Linked DNA regions of Homo sapiens: region 2 is linked to region 1. Evidence: promoter capture Hi-C in 16 types of primary human blood cells and fetal thymus (Javierre and others, 2016). All regions are on one chromosome and are shown on one strand. Each heading gives the region's core, a stretch centred on a gene start or on the middle of the fragment in contact. The rest is flanking DNA. Distances are from core to core; before and after follow the strand shown.

The links. The method cuts DNA at HindIII sites, captures the fragments that hold promoters and counts their contacts. A CHiCAGO score of 5 or more calls a contact.
Region 2: a contact is called between a fragment that was not itself captured here and the fragment with the promoter of GABPA in region 1, in 1 of 17 cell types (fetal thymus). The highest score is 5.0, in fetal thymus.

The regions. Positions count from the first base shown.
Region 1 is chr21:25,732,725-25,738,061 of GRCh38, reverse strand. GABPA (GA binding protein transcription factor subunit alpha) reads right to left here and starts at 3,090. Exons shown (of 10, transcript NM_002040.4): 1 at 2,484-3,090. ATP5PF (ATP synthase peripheral stalk subunit F6) reads left to right here and starts at 3,158. Exons shown (of 4, transcript NM_001003703.2): 1 at 3,158-3,209. RefSeq lists silencers at 2,097-2,306, 2,367-2,506, 3,447-3,546 and enhancers at 3,007-3,126, 3,147-3,256, 2,683-3,338, 3,657-3,736, 5,029-5,337. The HindIII fragment of the contact is 6,464 bases long and covers 1,572-5,337 here.
Region 2 is chr21:26,845,119-26,850,455 of GRCh38, reverse strand. It overlaps ADAMTS1 (ADAM metallopeptidase with thrombospondin type 1 motif 1), which reads left to right and starts at 5,047. Exons shown (of 9, transcript NM_006988.5): 1 at 5,047-5,337. RefSeq lists enhancers at 3,663-4,262, 4,263-4,863. The HindIII fragment of the contact is 744 bases long and covers 2,879-3,622 here.

The sequences.
Region 1 (5,337 bases), core at 1,841-4,340:
TAAGCATTCCAGAAAAATTCTCAAATTGGTTAACAGGATTGATTGACAATGTTCAGGGCAGCTTTATTGGTGACAGCTGGTGCCAATCCAAGTGTCTATTTTAAGAAAGTATTAATCAAAGAAAATGTGGAGAAAGTATACACTATGGAATTTCAGTATTGGTTAAAAGGAAATAATGTCCACACAAAATAGATATATTATAAAAAACTGTTGTCTACAGAAAAAAGTGAGAATCAGGTTTATAGCAGAATAGCACTTAAAAAAAATCACTTATTTTCAGGGCTTATAAAGAGGTCCACTCCCATCTCCACAACCAATTTTTTTAAAATTAGAAAACATAAATTTTCTGGAAACTTTGGCAAGATAGAAAAAAAAGCATTATGATGTAGCCAGAGGCTGAGAAGTGGCCCTAATGGCGTATCAGCAGGGACACCTGGGGCTCCCCTAACATAAACACTAAAATAGGAAGTTGCTACAAAGAAATTTATCCTATGATCTTTCAAAAAATTTATAGACCAATCCCTAGAAAGTGCCAAATAGAGAAAAAACAAAACAAAACAAAAACCCATGCCCTTTTGGAGAAAAAAAAAATTACTCAGTTTCTTAAATGATCTGTCAAAAAATATTACTCAGTCTCTTAAATCTTTCTTTCTCTCCTGGTTCTCTATGCTTAGTCCAGAGAAGCAAAACAGAGATTTGAGAAATAGTCCAAATCTTTCATATCAGTTTTTGAGTGAGTCTTATCTCTTTTTCTGAAACCAATTCCTCAGGCTTCTATGTCAATACTTAGGAAAACTGAGAGAAAATTACTTGCAGTTTCTCCGTCTAAGGGCTGCCCCCGCCAGAACTGCACAGAACAATTTCATATACTTTGACACTCTGGTTCTGCTGGATTAAATCCAACCTGGGGTTCGGAATGTTTCACAAGATGGGATACAAACTAAACTTGAATTTAACGAAAAATTCTGGGAACGGCTAGTGTCTTTTAAAATACAGATAGGTGTAACATTCCCTTTTGAAACTACAGATAAATTTGAGAATTGTCCTTCATTGGAGAGCATTATTACAGAGCTTAGAACATTTTGTTCCCAATATATTATAAGTGGAGTGTGGGGGTACCTGCGAGATTAACTGCACATTTTCCTAAGTTATCAAATGCTTTTCTGTGTCTGAGGAAATTAAAAGACATTTTTATTTTCAAAAATAAAGGTAGCAGTTAAGAAAAAGCAAAGCATACATATCTATGTAATATAAAAAGAGAAAGCACATACAGTGAAAGATTAACAGTTGGGACCCTCAGGTGAAGGGTATCTGCGTGTTCACTGCATGATTTTTTCCCCAATTCTTCTGTAGGTTTGGAGTTTTATATATAAAGAGTTGAGGGAAGGCTAAAGTCAACAGTTTTAATTTAGTACTCGGTCTGATGATTTGCTTCAACCTAACATCTAGCTCATGATTTAATTACTTCATTACTATACATGCCTCATGACAGATGCTCTTGTATACACAATTCAGGTAAAATTGACTTGAAGTCCACTCAGCGTCACTGTATGTCTAAAAATAAAGAAGCTTGGAAAGCCTGGATGGAACCCTGAGAGACAGGCTAGTCCCTCAAGCAGTTGCTAAAGAGTTGAGCGGTTTCTTCTGAAGTTCAAGATAACACTACCGAAGAATGTTATCACCGCCTCGTTCTACAATTCGCTCAAGTGAATCCTGCTAAATCTTTGCTCTTCTCACGAGTCAGACCTACTGCTATTAGTGGAAACTACTTATGAAATGAATTTTATTTCTAAATTTCTAATCATCTTGCAATGCAATATTAGGCATTGTCCTCTCGGTCCGCTAACCTGATCAAACTGGGGTCCCTAAATCCAAACACGCACATACAGCGTGTCTTCTAGTACACAAAAAAATTTCCAAGTAGACAACCCATTGTTATCTCCTTGGTTTACTTCCTTGCTTAAAAACAAAAAAACAAACCCAGATGGCTACCATATACGCTGATAAATGATTCTGGTGTGTGTTGTTCTATAAAGAGAGCGGATTTGAAATGAGTGAATCGCTGAGTCCCGCGATGAGACAGGGTCTGCATTTTGCTCTTAAAATCTCGGGGGCGTCAGGACCACATCCCAGCTGAGCAGGCTGAGACTGCTGAGGAGTGCGGACGGGCGAGGAGGGGACGCGGAAAGGAGGGAGCGGCGACAGGCGACCCGTCCGGCACGGGTCCCGGCGGTGCCCGGTCCCCCCGGGCTCCAGGCCGCTCGCCCCCCGCCCCTCCCCTTCGCTCCCCGCACAGCTCTCCCGCCCCTCCCCACCCGGCTCCCTCAAGTCTCCACGAACGGAAATGGGAGTCACAGCGCCGGGGACCAGCGGAAACAAAACACAGAGGCGGCCGCGGGGGGGCCCTTGTGGGGGAAAAGGCCCCGGAACGAGGCCGGCCCGCGAGGGCCCGCGCTCCCCTCCTCCCCGGCGGCCGCACTCACCCACTCCGGAATCGGCCCTGTCGCCCCCGCCCGCACTCCAGAGCCGGCTGAGAACGGCAGCGGCGAGGGCTCCACGTGCAGCGTCTCTCCGGGTAAGACCTGCAGCTCCCGCGACTAGAAGTGTGAGGTCCCAGGGCCCTTCCCGCGGAATCGGCGCTGAGAAGCCCCAACCCCCCTCCCGCCTCCCAGGCACCTTCGGGTCCAGGACTACAACTCCCGGCAGGGTGCGCAAAACGACCGCCCAAGGCAACGGAGGCTCACGAGGTACAAGGAAGCACAACGCCCCAATCCGCTTTGTTTTACACAGTCTCACTTTCCCTGCACCTTTATACACTTCGATAACCCTAACGAACAGGACGCTGACTCGGAGGGGAGCTTGAACTAGGGGAAAGGCCACTCAAAGAGCGCATGCGTACAGAGCAAGGTTTCAAGGAGGGGAAAAAGAACGGGTCAAATTAGGCGAAGAAAAGATGGCGGAGGCTGTGCCAGGGGACCCGGAAGCACTTACCCTCCACTTCCTCCTCCTGTTTGGCTTCTGTCTCACCTAGACCCGTCCGGTCGCAGACTGTCTCCGAGACGCTTCCTGTCCGGTGAGCGTCGACCGACTGAAACGGCGGCCCATAATGCATTGCGATGGCGGGTAGGCGTGTGGGGGCGGAGCCAGGGCCGGAAGTAGAGCGGAGGTGGTGGCGGCGGAGGCTTTGGCAGCTCGGGACTGAGTGCAAGGTGACTGGGAGGGTAGCTAGATCAGCGTGGCCTTTTGGGACTCCAGTTCTGGGTTTTTTCACGAGGCCTGGGCTGCCTCTCACCTTTACTAGGAGGAGAGAGCAGCTCTGTGTCCTGGGGACCTTCACGGCCTGGCCCGGGGTCACAGCTGACCTCTACGTTTGTAGACCTTGGAGTTTGCCGTAGACCCAGAAATAAGATCGATACCCTCTCTGAGGGCAAATCGGGGCGGCGCGGGGGGCAGGGAGGCCCGGGGGTCTCGGGCCCGCAGCCTGGCTGGGGCAACCCAAGGTCAGGCGCGCGGGAGAGATTTTCGGCCAGGCCTACCCGCCCCGGGCGCACGGGAGCGTCTAGGCTACTTAGGCAGAACGTGTACCATTAAGAGGGAAAAAATTAGTCATAATATTGAAAGTTTGCATCCCACCTAAAAACGATGGTGCTAACACTTCATTAGGCGACTTTATGGATTGTTCATAGGAATATGCACTGAAGAGGCAGCGAACCTACTAACCTTTGGCCGGTCAGTCATCACTATAAATAGAACCATGCTCCCACCCAGAACAAGGCCTCTGCTCAGACTAGTGTTTTCTTACTGTTGCCTTCCCCAGTCTTTCTGATCATGTCAGACGCTATCATATGCTCTCGTGGCACCCGATGGTACTGGAATAGAGAATTTATGTCAGGTGGTATTTCACAGCTATTTGTGTAATGACTATCTTCTGCGTTTTAGTGGACAATATGCATTCACTAATCAGTGAAAAAAAATGAAAGGGATTAAAGGAGAAGGAACAAGTTTTGATATGGGATTATGTGTTCGTTTTTTGGATGAGTTCGTAGGACTTATAAGGGAGATGAGAACTGTTGAATGCTGTGGATAGATTTGGGGCTCAGGATGAATACTAAAATTAGAAATGCGATTGGGGAATCATAGGCACTTACATGGTGGATAATTGAAACAATGAAAGTGGATTTTACCCGTGTTGCAGAAGGAGTAACATCTATGCAGTCAGACTTAGAGCAAATTAACTGTGAGAATACGTGCAGCTTAATCTTTCTTAGATACAGTTTTATCATCTGTAAAGCAGGGATAAGAACACTTTAACTCTTTGAGAGTATTGCTGTAAGGGTACAAGGAAAGGATATATATGGAAGTACTTTGCACAGTATCTAGGGCTAAGCAAATGTCGGGTGAACCTATTGCTGAATGTTAAGCATGTCCTTAGTTTGCCAGAAGGGAAAGTGGCATTGAATTGCACAATTTTTTTTTTTGCATATATGTGTTAAGTTAGATTTTGCTGTGTAACTTTGACCAGATACTTTTTTTTTGAGACAGAGTCTCGCTCTGTCGCCCAGGCTGGATTGCAGTGGCACGATCTCTGCTCACTCCAAGCTCCACTTTCCAGGTTTACGCCCTTCTGCCTCAGCCTCCGGAGTAGCTGGGACTACAGGTGCCCGCCACCACGCCTGGCTAATTTTTTGTATTTTTCAGTAGAGACCGGGTTTCACCGTGTTAGCCAGGATGGTCTCGATCTCCTGACCTCGTGATCTGCCCGCCTCGGCCTCCCAAAGTGCTGGGATTACAAGCGTGAGCCACCGCGCCCGACCACTTTGACCAGATACTTCTAATCCTCAGTTTCTGTGTGTTTAAACATAGGAATGATAATAAGTGGCACATGACCTTGTGAGGTCATTTGTTGTTTGCTTGTAGCCTTTTCTCAAGTATTTTTCCCTGATGGGGTATAAAAGTGATATGTTATGAATTCTTTAATTTCTTCAAACAGTTTGCTTTCATTCTGTCAGGTGAAGCATATTTTGTTGATTGCATTGATAGTAGGATTTCTTTTTTTTTTTTTTTTTTTTTTTTTTTGAGACAGAGTTTCACTCTTGTTGCCCAGGGTGGAGGAGTGCAGTGGCGCGATCTCGGCTCACCGCAACCTCCGCCTCCTGGGTTCAAGGAATCTCCTGCCTCAGCCTCCTGAGTAGCTGGGATTACAGGCATGTGCCACCACTCCCGGCTAATTTTGTATTTTTGGTAGAGACGGGGTTTCTCCATGTTGGTCAGGCTGATCTTGAATCCCTACCTCAGGTGATCCACCCACCTTGGCCTCCCAAAGTGCTGGGATTACAA
Region 2 (5,337 bases), core at 2,001-4,500, 1.1 Mb before region 1:
CTTATTCCATGGTCTCAAGTGCCGCCTGCTGACTAAAACTGTCCACTTCCAATTCCAGCACTTATTAAACTAGAGATAATATGTTAATATTAATTTGCTTTAATTAATAAAATATTCCTAGAATATGATTTTAAATTCACATGACATTCGGAAGTCACTTATATTTGCAGTATTCAAGAATTACATGAAGTATGTGCTCATTAAGAGCGATTTTAAATTTTATCTTTTGTCACCACCTGGTGGTAGAACATTTTCTCACTTTTCTTTTTTCATTTTAAGCCTTACGTTGTTGCTAAGGAAAATTTCTAAACCAGGGAAACCAGTTAACCAGTATTGATTGTCAAGTATTAATGTATACTAAACATACTGTATGTACTTAATATCTATTGAATAAATGAATGAGTTTTTAATCTGTTTTAGTGGATTGCAAATGTACTTAATCTTTTCATTTGAATGACAAGAAGTTCTCAAATGTAATGAATAAAAGCGGTCCACAGTATTATTTTGTCAGAGGCAGTTTTCTTTCTTTAAAGTTTAATTGGATTTTTGTTTATGGTAATACAAACACATAATTAAAAAGTAGTTGATTTAAAAACGCATTTTATTATGCCCTCAAGAATAAATTCATTTAACATTGTAATATTTTTAAAATATTTTCCATAATACTAGGAGGTAGGAGAATATTTAATTAGAATTTATTAAACATGATTGAGAAGATGTGAAACTTTTGCAAATTCTTAACTTGAACTATTAAGAATAAAAAAGGAAAGGAAAGAAAAAAAAAAAAAAAACACCAAGTCGCACATCATTTGTTGTAGACCATCGCCACCTTGTGTTTGGAGAAAGATGTACTAAAGTCTGAGAATCTTTTAAGGTGGAAATTTTTTATTGCTGGAAAATTCCTATTTATAATTAAAACAAAACTTTACTGGAAACAACATCATTCCAAAGTCTGACAATATAATTACCTCCTACACAATTAGATAGGTTAAAATGTCAAAACAGTTGATTAAAAGTTATGAGTCAGAGTCATTTCTAAGCCCCCAGTTTGACTCTCGCTATGACATCTTGGGAAAACTACTTAACCCTTTTGAGTCTCATTTCTGCATCAGTTACACAAAGGGAGTCGATCTGGCAGATCATACTCCTCTGAGTTCTGTGAGGGCATGATGTGGAGGGAATATCAATTTTGAGTCTAAATGCAAGCTACAATAATTTTTCTGTCTCCAATATTTGCAATACTTCTGGGTATATAACCTGTTTAAACTAGAAGTTTTCTAACTACTTTCTCATTTGTGATCAATTAAAATATCCATTTGTCCAATATTACTTTAGACCATATGTTCCCAAAAGTAGGACTAATACCAAACAGCTTCCCTATTTCTAATTAGTCAATCTTATGGTACTAAAATGTGAATAAAAAGCATTTCCCGGTTATGAAATATGCACATTAGTTGTTTCTCTAGACAATGTTTACATTAAAACAATTCTAATAGCTCATGTATATTACCAGATTTCCTCATTTCATGGCTACTTGTTGAATACTTACTTTGGTATAGACGTCGTGAAAATTGTGAATAGAATATTGTGTCTATAACATATGAATCTGTGAAACAAATAAGAACACATAAGGTGTAAATAGAAATTGACACCTTGATGCTTATCTCTCACTTTAAAATGCAGACAACTTGTTCTTTTTTTCAGACAGTCCCTCTGTTCATAGAGGACAATAATGTGTTTAATAGGTCAAACTGTTAATTGTTCCAATAATTTTATGTCAAATGTTTTGAGTTTTGTTCTGTTATCTCTAGAAATAAAAATTAGCTTACATATGTAAATTAGAACATGTTGAGATTAATGTTTATATAAGCCCATATGTATTCTATAAAAATAAAACCCAAAATATGGGGAGTAGGGATTAGGATAGCATGTGTTATTTTGGGTGCCCATTCAAATCAAGGAGCAAAAATTGGATTATGAAACTCACTACAAGAACCCCATATTACATGTCACTTTTACTAGTGCCTTGTACAAATTTACTCCTGTGGTCTTGTTTCTACATTCAAATGTTTTTCCAATTCACATTTTGCTTATAAATATACATATATGTCCTATGTATATATTTGCATATTACCACAAATGCCTGATGAGTGCTAATCTTTAAATAAAAGAGAAAAAGTAAGTGGATTAAATGTTCTTCTGAGCATAGATGGAGTTTTTCAGCTTAGTAGTTGGCAACTCCAACATCCATGTCTCTGTTGAAGCGATTAAAAAAGAATCATTTCCCAGAACTACAGGTGCACAACAGATTGGAGTCATTATGCAAAAGAACAGAAATCTGGATAGAAACCCAGAGAATAAAAAAGCCATGTTCCCGGCCATCCTTTTGCCTTTAACTCACTGTTTTTTCAACCCTACTTGTATCTGCAACATGAAATATGAAACAATTATAATGGATTTGTAGTAACCCATTCAAGATCAGAAATGTATGCTTTTAAACAAACCTCCAATAAGAATACCCTGCAGGTAGAAACACACTAAAGGTCAAACTTACGTTAACATATTTTTAAAAGCTAAAGTTTATGTAGAGAAGTTGATAGACTGAAATACATTACATATGTCTTTAAAGATACAGATTTTCTGCTGTTTTTGTCCCTTTTTGCCCCAATTTAAGGGAATCACATCTACCTTCACTCATCTTCATTCAGCCTCTGGGCCACCTCTCCTTGAGATGGAGATTATGAGTGTCCAAAATCTCCATCTCAAATCTCCATCTCAAAGCCACTCTGAGGCTGTAACTGTTGTCACCATATATTATCTTCTGAGCCCTTTTCTAAGCAAGAGGTTGAAAATGTACGGATGGCTTTGCCTTCAAGCTTTTGTGATCCCGCGGTCAATATCTTGAAAGTCTAACATGACTTTCCTCATATGTTCTCTCAAGTATCTTGCCTTTTTTCTAGCTAGAAAGAACCAGTAAAATGAAATGAAATCATAGAAAATGGACCGTCAAAAAATTACTGTAATAGAAGATAACAATGTTAAAAAAAAAAGTCTGAAAACCAAACTGGGAAGTAGGAATGATCAGATGTTTGGGAAAAGACGCTTGGGAAACAGAGAAACAGGAAGGAATAATCCTCGTAGTTCGAAGTCGAAGAGAAGGAGGTAGGCTGGACAATGCTTGACAATGCAGAAAGGAATCACACACTCAGGTGTGCGGATGTCAATGTTGAGTTTGAAGGAGAAATGCAACGGCGGGAGGGGGGGAGAGACAGCGAGGGCTGCAAAGGAGAGACTCAGTGAAAAGAGGTAGGCAGAAACACTATCAGAATGTTAATCGAGCGCTGTCAAAATATATCTAAGGCCTTGGTTGATTATTCAACGTTCAACGATGAGGGTGATTTTAGGAAACCAAAATTAAATCTACGAAACCACCCACTCCTAAATGTGTAGGGACTAGAGGTCGTTACTAAGCCCTTCAGAAGTAAGCTGAGTTGCTTCTCTCTGCCATTCTTGCTCATTTGATTTTTCCTGATGAGTGGAAAGCAATGTTTTTGTTTTTGTTTTTCAAGTAAGCAATCTCGCTAGGAAAAAAGAAGTTGGAAAGCATCCGGAAAAGAAAGCTTGTAAGAGGGACGTGTGGGAGAACTAGAAGGGACGCTTCTGGCTGGGGCCAACTGAAGTGGGGAAGATCTGGGGAGGAGCGAGGAAAGGACCCAGATCTACTTGGAGCCAACCAAGAGACCGGACGGGAGTGGGGCGGAAAGGCGGAGACCAGTTCGAGCACTAACGCGGGGGCGCGCGAGTGTGAGGGTTGCGGGTCCGCCCGGGGCTAGGGCGGTCGCTCTCGCCATTGTCCCCGCGGCTTTCCGCCTGTGAAACACGTCCTTCCTCTGGGTCCTTGAGCCCCTCCCACTTTTTGGAGAGAAGAGCCACTCAGTTTTTTTTCCTAAGGACCTGTTGGTGGACCTCTCCTCGCTTTCGTAACGCGGATATAGCCTTTTCCCTTCCTGGTAGGAAGAGGAAGGAGGGGTCCGGGAAGGAAGCCGATTTCCTTCTTTCCCCCTCTGCACGCTTGCTAGCCCCAGCGATCGCTGCTGGCCCCCGGGTAGGAAAGTGGGGTTCCTGGCCGTTTCTGCGACGCTGGCCTAGGGCTTGCAGCTGCTGTTGAGTGAAAGCACGCAGACTGGCGGGAGCCGATCATTTCTCGAATGAAGAAGAAAAAGCGCAATTCCCTCCTTATGCTCTAGGGAATTGAGCCGCGTCCCAGATCACCCATTCCAGAAATGTGAAACCGGGCCCTCACAAAGTCGTCTCTGGTGAAGAGGTGGCGTGCGGGGTGGGGGTTGGTGGAGGGTGAAGGCATAAGCAAACATATTTTAAAATCCAGATCGTAGGAAGTGTCACCTGGCCCCTCACCCAGGCATGCTTTCTGGGGGAAGCGCAGGGCCAAGCTTTCCCTAGAAAAGCTGGGGCGAAGAGAGAGCAGGCGGCGGCTAAGGAGCTCCTGGCAGGCTGGGAAGGTGGAGAAGTGGGGTGAGGTATTTTTCTAGAAAGTGTAGCCCTAGCTCATCTCCTAGATTGGGGAAGAGGGAACTGAGGGAGGAGGGAAGGAGACCCAGGGCAGCTCCAGGATAGGGAAATGTTGAAGAAGGGACTGCGTTCTCCAACCGAACCCTCCCTCCTGGGAACCGCAGCCCAGCGCGGTAACTGAGTTACCGCAACCGGGCGGTGGGGAGGAAGGGTGGTCCAGGAAACCGGCGAGGGAGAAAAGCGGTGGAAGGGAGAGTCTTCTCCCTGGAGCGGCCCCAGCAGTACAAAGTGCTGGTCACAGCGCCCCTTCCGCCCCTAGATTGACGAGCAGTGGCGTGGAGCCAGCGCGGAGGCTGCCCCCTCCCCCTCCCGAGCCCGCAGCGCGGAGCGCGGTTTAGCACCAACGGAGCCGGGGGCGGCGTCTTTGGGATGGAAAAGGGCCAAAGGGGAGGAGTGGGGTGGGGGTGGGGGTTTCACTGGTCCACTATAAAAGGACCGCTCGGCTGCCCGGTTCTTGCACTCGCTGGAAAGCGGCTCCGAGCCAGGGGCTATTGCAAAGCCAGGGTGCGCTACCGGACGGAGAGGGGAGAGCCCTGAGCAGAGTGAGCAACATCGCAGCCAAGGCGGAGGCCGAAGAGGGGCGCCAGGCACCAATCTCCGCGTTGCCTCAGCCCCGGAGGCGCCCCAGAGCGCTTCTTGTCCCAGCAGAGCCACTCTGCCTGCGCCTGCCTCTCAGTGTCTCCAACTTTGCGCTGGAAGAAAAACTTCCCGCGCGCCGGCAGAACTGCAGCGCCTCCTTTTAGTGAC